Regions from separate parts of the Homo sapiens genome. Here region 2 is linked to region 1. The links are contacts of gene promoters, found by promoter capture Hi-C in human tissues and cell types (Jung and others, 2019). All regions are on one chromosome and are shown on one strand. The core of a region is centred on a gene start or on the middle of the fragment in contact, and the rest is flanking DNA. Distances in the headings are between cores, read along the strand shown.

Region 1 (3,274 bases), core at 406-2,905:
CAGATTGTAGCTGCTCTTGCAGTCACTCAGGGAGAAGTGTTCTTTGAAAGTGGACAGGAAAAATGCAATATTGTAGGGCGCCCACATCAGAAGGAAGACTACCATTATGGCAAAAACAAGCTTGAAAAGGCTATACCTCTGCTCCCTGAACCTTAGTGTTTTTCTCATTTGCACATAGAGAAATGTAAAAATAAATAGGGGGAGGACAAGAACCGAAATGTTCATTTTTAAAGTCAGAAAATGCTTCCAGAATGTCTCATCAGCTGGCAGGAAGGGAGTTCTGCTAAATGCACACTTGTATTTCTGGTCTTCCATCTGAGGTTTATAAACCACGAATTCAGGCAAAGTGGCCAGAATGGCTGTTACCCATGCCAGGACACTTGTAATGATGCCACAGGGCACCCTCCTCCTGGCTGAGAAAAAGTTTCCCTTGTGCAAAAACACTAGGTACCTTTGCACAGTCAGAAGGCAATTGAAAAATGTCTCACTGTACAGGCCCACGAAGTACAGTCCAATGAGAATTTTACACATGGGATCGCCCCCAGCATGAGCCCAGAAGGGCAGGGTAAGCAAGAAACACAAGTTAGAAACTGCCAAGTTTAGAAGATAGATATTTTCCACGCGTTTGAGTCCTTTATATTTTACCAGGATAAGCACAACCAGGAGATTGTCCAGGACACCGATCACAAACACAGCAGAGCAGAGTGATGGCACCAGCTGGGCTGAGAGTGCCTGGGCGTCATACTTGTCACATTGCTCTGCCTCATCGCTCTCCAGTTCACCTTCTATGAGGACATCATATTCATCCTCTGGTGCCAGCGTGTAATTGGCCATCTTCAGACTGCCCTGTGGAGAAATGGGAGATGATTTTCCCCTCCGACAGCTGCCTTATCCTGGAGGAAACAACAAACTGGACCTGGATTCATACAGCCCCACTTTCCCTTTCTGGAGCTACATTTTAGCCAGAGTAATTCCCTATTTCAGAAGACTGAAATAAACATTTCTTTAACGTGTGCCCACTTCCCCAGAGCAGCACCATTCCCAATCTAGTTGTTAAGCATGTAAGTGCTTAGCAGTGTGCCAGGTGCCACGGGAAATAAAGCTGGCATGACACCGCCTTGGTAGAACTTACCTTCTTTTAGCAGAAACAGGACTTGCCTACATGAACACAATATGTAAGAAAATATATAATTAAAGAGAACCAAGTACGATGGCTTACTTTTAAGAAACGGGTGTAGATCATAATTTCTGCATTTTAAAAAGTTTGCTCACCCCCCGAAGCAGCTTCCTGTGACAGCTGAGACGTTTTTCTCTCGAAGGGTATAAATAAATGTTTGCAAAAGTGAAACCATGCTCAGCATCAACATGGCCATAAGGGGTTAAATACATAGATGACACACAGATGACTTACCACTGGGCTGAGCTCCTGCAGGGGAAGGGCGCAGCCTCCAGACCCAGCATCCGGGAGCTGTGGGAATGGCCCCGGACAGTGGATGCCCTCCTTTTGATCAGACTGCTCCTGACCCTGAGGGGCACGAGAAACCACTGTTGATTCCCCTGGTGGCTCTACCCGCCCCACTCACCGAGCTCAGGGACCAACTGAAATAAAGTACTCAAAAGCTCCCCCAGGCCTCCAGAGGATCTCTGAAGCGTCTGAAAGCAACCGGGAAGTTGTTTCCTCCTCCCTCTGGCCCTGTACCCCGCCTTTGATTTCCCTGTGACCTTTGACAGCCGTCTTCTGGCCTTCTGAGATAAGGGAACTGTGTCACTGCCGCTCTGAGTGGTAGCAAGGAAGTGATGTCAAGGTGCTGAGAACTGCCAAGACGCTCTGGCTTGTGGCATGTGACACTCTGAGTAGGTAACAGGTACCAGCTACTGTCAGCAGGGAGGAAGGTATGTGGTGACCACGAGTCCAGACCTGAGGGTCCTGACCCTCTAATGCGGCCTCTCACCAGTGTTCGCAGAAACCCACCCGCTGATTCAATACGGGGACCAGGAACCTGCCATGACAGTCACGGTGTGTTTGGGTTTTTATTGTCATTTTTGAGGGGCACTGTGTGCTTTGGTTAAGACTGAGGCCTCAAAAGAGAATTTTAGGAAAATGGAAGCCACAGGGTGATGTCAGCTGGGAAAAGGCCAGGGGCAGAGGTGGGGTCTCAGCGGCAGTGAGCATAGGGCTGCCCTGGGTGTCAACACTGAGGAAAGCAAAGGGGTTTGCAAGCAGCCAGAAGTGATTGGTGCTGTGACTCATGGGGGAGCTGACCCCACTCGGAAAAGGAGAACCCAGAGGAGGAAAATCCCGTGGTGATGACACAGAGGCGACATCAAGTTGGGTGGGAGAGAATGTGAGGAGGACAAGTTTAACCCCAAACTGAGGCTGGGGGCTAGGGTAGGTTTGAGTCCAGAGAGAAGGAAATTGAGAGAACAGCCCAGATTTGGAATGGTGGGAGGAGGCTGTGGGGAGGGGAGGCTGTGGGAAGAGAGTGGGACGGGGAGGGCACGGTCTGGAAGAAGGACGAACCGAGAAGAGGAACTTGAAAATAATGAAAAAATCTAGATGAGCTTCTCTTGGGTCAACGACTCAGCAGCTGTGACTAACCTAATTTGGGGATCAGACCTATTTGCTTAGAATTTATATATTGATTAAATGACATCCTTTTCCCACCAAAGATGTGTCTGAGGTAGGATTGAATACAAAATTTGTACCTGTCAAAATAGAAATAGAAAATTAAGAAACTAGCCTGGCACTGAGGCGCATTCCTACAGCCCCAGCTACTCAGAAGTATGAGGTGGGAGGGTCGCTTGAGCCCAGGAGTTTGAGGCCAGCCTGGGCAACATAGTGAGATCCCGGATCTATAAACAATATAAAAATTAGCCAGATGCAGTGGCAAGTGCCTGTAATCCCAGACATTCCAGAGGCCAAGGTGGGATGTTCACGTGAGCCCAGGAGTTGGAGGCTGCGGTGAGCCATGATCATGCCACTCTGCACTCTGGCCTGGGTGGCAGAGCGAGACACTGTCTCTGGAAAAAAAAAAGAAGAAGGAGGAGGAGGGGCGGGGAGAGGAAGGGAGGAGAGAGAACTATTAAGAGAAAAATAAACACAGAAAGAGCCCAGACAAATATGTGATTGAGCATTAAATTTAACTCCACGTGTGCCGACAGACAAGGCAGAAAGAGAAACACAATGATGTTTGATGGCAGAGGAGTTGGTGCTGGTGGGAACCTAAGCTGTAAGTGCCCTCTCCTCTCTTGTGTGGGTCTCCTGTGAGTGAGT
Region 2 (3,215 bases), core at 5-2,504, 71 kb before region 1:
AAACACCTTGGTGCCATCATCCACCTCTCTCCTTCACACCCCACATCCCCTTGTAATGTAAGCAAATCCCATGACCTCCTCCTTTAAAATATGTCAAGAATCCAGCCATCTCACTATTTCTCCACTGCCACATCCTAATCAAAGCCACTTCTGGCCGGGCGCAGTGGCTCACGCCTGTAATCCCAGCATTTTGGGAGGCTGAGGTGGGTAGATCACTTGAAGTCAGGAGTTCGAGACCAGCCTAGAAACCAGCCATGGTGAAACCCCGTCTCTACTAAAAATACAAAAATTAGCCAGGGGTGGTGGCACTTGCCTGTAATCCCTGCTACTTGGGAGGCTGAGGCAGGAGAATCGCTTGAACCCTGGAGGCAGAGGTTGGAGTGAGTTGAGATCGTGCCACTGCACTTCAGACTGGGTGACAGAGCGAGACTCTGTCACAAACAAACAAACAAACAAACAAACAAACAAACAGAAAAGCCACTTCATCTCTCTCCCAGGTCACTGCTGGAGCCTCCCTAATCATCTCTCTGCTCCCCACTTGTTCTGCCTCTCAGTCCATTCTCAGCCTTCTGCCTTGGCTCCTACATCCTCAGAGTAAAAGCAGATGGTCTTCTAGGTACCCACAGGGCCCCACAATTCCCGGGCCCTGTAATCTCCCCCTCAATCACTTGGTTCCGGCCAAACCCACTTTGTGGAGGTTGCTGGAAGATGCCAGGGTGGGAGAGAGGGGGCTATGGGGTTTTCCCTGCCTGTCACAGGTCAGGCTGCCCCTCCTCCAGAGCTGCCACAGGTGGGAGGCAGATTCCCTACCACGCACAGAGCCTTGGGCACAGGCGTGGTTCTCCATGCTTCTTCTGTTACCGTGGTCCATGGACATTCTCATCTCCTATGGTGGTAACTGACTATTCCCTTGTCTGTTGCCCTTGGGGGCAGAACTGAGTCTAACTCAGTTTGGTGACCCAGTACCTAACAAGGACCTGGTCCAGGATAAATGCTCTGTGAGGATGGCTTTAGTTGAGGGAACCCCTCTAAGTGCAAGGAGTCAGGAAGCTGGATTCTACCTGGCCGCACTGTGTCAGGTCTGAGCAGGCCACACGCCCTCTCTGGGCTTAGAGACCTCATTTGTAAAATGGCATAAAAAATATTATTTTCTGAGAGTGTCTGATTTTCTTGGTCAAATTATTTCAAGGTAGTAACCTCAAGCCAGAATATTTCCAAATATCCTGGAAATTGCTCACTTTTGTGACTCTTTCCTCCATTTCCAAATAGCCATCAGGTTCTGCTTCATCTACGAGGTCCCCAGGCCCACCCACTAGTTCCTCATTCTGCCAGTCATCTTCTGCCCTACCCTCTTCTGTCCTCCCCTTGGCCCTCTAGCATCTACGTTGCATCCTGCGGCTGCTTCCTCATCCAGCTGCACTGTCCAGGAAGATGGGGAGTGATGGTTAAGAGCGGGGTGGACCTGGCCTCACCCTTTGGTCCCTGGCACTCTCTAGGGACCCTGCTCATGCCTGCTGATAGCACTGTGGAGAGCAAAGTGTGTCACCTGCCCTTTGTCACCAACATAGCGACCTTCAGCCTCTGGGGAAGTGACTGAGTGGCCACATGGGTTCTGGGAAAGCTTCCCTTGTAGCCCAGAGACCCTTGGAGGGGGAGAGAGAAGATGTGTGGAGCAAAGCCAAGACTGACAGTCGGGACGCAGCTGGGTTACTGGTGAGCAGAAATTCAAGGAGGCTGCCCAGGCTGCTGAGAGGGGCCATTAGGAAAAGTCTCAGGGCAGTGGGGCGGGAAGAGGGCATGATGGTGAGAGAGACAGAGAACTGGAGAGAGAAGTGGACGTCATAAAAGAGAGAGGAGTGAAAGAGTTACAAAGGGTTGCAGATAACAGGACAGAATGTGGGCATAAGGAGTGTGGGTGTGGAGAGGGGCCCAAGGAATCACAAAGACAGATGTCTGTAAAAGGGCTGGGGCACGCTGCTGGGTTAGCTTGAGAAGGAAGACTGGGGAAAGTGGCTCCCGCTCGGCCCTCTGTCCTCCCTGTAGGGTGAACTTGCCTTTGCTAACACCTTCTGTTGGATTGTGACTCAACTGGAGCCGCCTGGGGAAAGGGAACTCTTTGCAGATTCCCAGGACTCTGCATAGGTTCTGGCTCACAACGGGGACCAGAAATGCATGGAAACAATAACAATAATAGTTAATATTGACTGAGTTTTCACTGTATGGTTTGGCCTTGTACTGAAAATCTTACATCCATTCATTTATTAATTCACACACCCATTCCTTCGTTCAAAAAATATCGATTGAGCAGCCCCTATGTGCTGGGCACTGTTCTAAGCATCTTTATAAGTTACTTCATTAAGTTCTAACAATTTTATGAGGGAGATGCTTTTAGTATTCCTATTTTCACATGGGGACACTGAAGCTGAGACAGGCTGAATGACGTGGCTAGATCTGGGGAGTGGGGAAGAGGTAGAGCTGGTTTCAAACTCCCCTGCCTGCGATGTTTAACCACTCTCATCACTGACCCTGCCTTTCAGGCACCAGACTACCCAGTGAATCAAAGGGACAAGGGAGTCGCCTAGAATGCAGGTGTGGCCTTGGGATGTGCTCAGAAGGGCCAGGCTTCATCTGGGCTTAGAAGAGCTGAGGGAGGAGGAGCCCTGGGCTCCCTCACAGAGGCAAGTGGAGGGAAATGGTGACTCTGAAGAATATTGAAAGAACTATCCGCCAATGAGAAAAAGCCTTACCAAATAATCAAACAATGGACAAAAGACATTCCCAAACAGAGTGGCTGAAATGAAAAAGACAGACAATGGCAGTGTTGGCAAGGATGTGAAGCCCCTAGAACTCTCATATACATTGGTGGGAATATGAATTGCTACAATTAACTTTGGAAAACTAGCAGAATTTTCTAAAGCAGAACGTAGTCATATGCTGTAAAACTCCATTCCTAAGTACATGACCAACAGAAAAGAATACATATGTTCGCTTCAGCACCATTGTAATAACCCCAAGTTAGAAACGACCAAAATATCTATTACCAATAGAATAGACAGGTAACTTTGGTACACTCACATACATAAAGATTATACAGAAGTGAGCATGTAAGAGCTATTTCTTTATGGAACAACATTGGAGAATCTAATAAACAAAATTTTAAACAGAAAACCTCAGGCACCTTCTATACAATTCCATTTATAAAAACTTCACACACA

Evidence for each region. Contacts are between HindIII fragments. The study calls those that stand out against the background at their distance.
Region 2: a fragment that was not itself captured here is called in contact with the fragment with the promoter of CCRL2 in region 1 in 4 of the 25 tissues and cell types used here (IMR-90 fibroblasts, aorta, lymphoblastoid cells and 1 more).

What each region holds. Positions count from the first base shown.
Region 1 is chr3:46,405,640-46,408,913 of GRCh38, reverse strand. It overlaps CCRL2 (C-C motif chemokine receptor like 2), which reads right to left and starts at 1,655. Exons shown (of 2, transcript NM_003965.5): 1 at 1,412-1,655; 2 at 1-846. The coding sequence starts at 834. CCR5AS (CCR5 antisense RNA) reads left to right here and starts at 1,848. Exons shown (of 4, transcript NR_125406.2): 1 at 1,848-2,017. The HindIII fragment of the contact is 5,778 bases long and covers 1-2,019 here.
Region 2 is chr3:46,476,765-46,479,979 of GRCh38, reverse strand. It overlaps a transcript of LTF not described here. Among named protein-coding and RNA genes, the nearest start is that of LTF, 13 kb to the right of the region's middle. RefSeq lists enhancers at 1,054-1,553, 1,554-2,055. The HindIII fragment of the contact is 7,156 bases long and covers 1-3,215 here.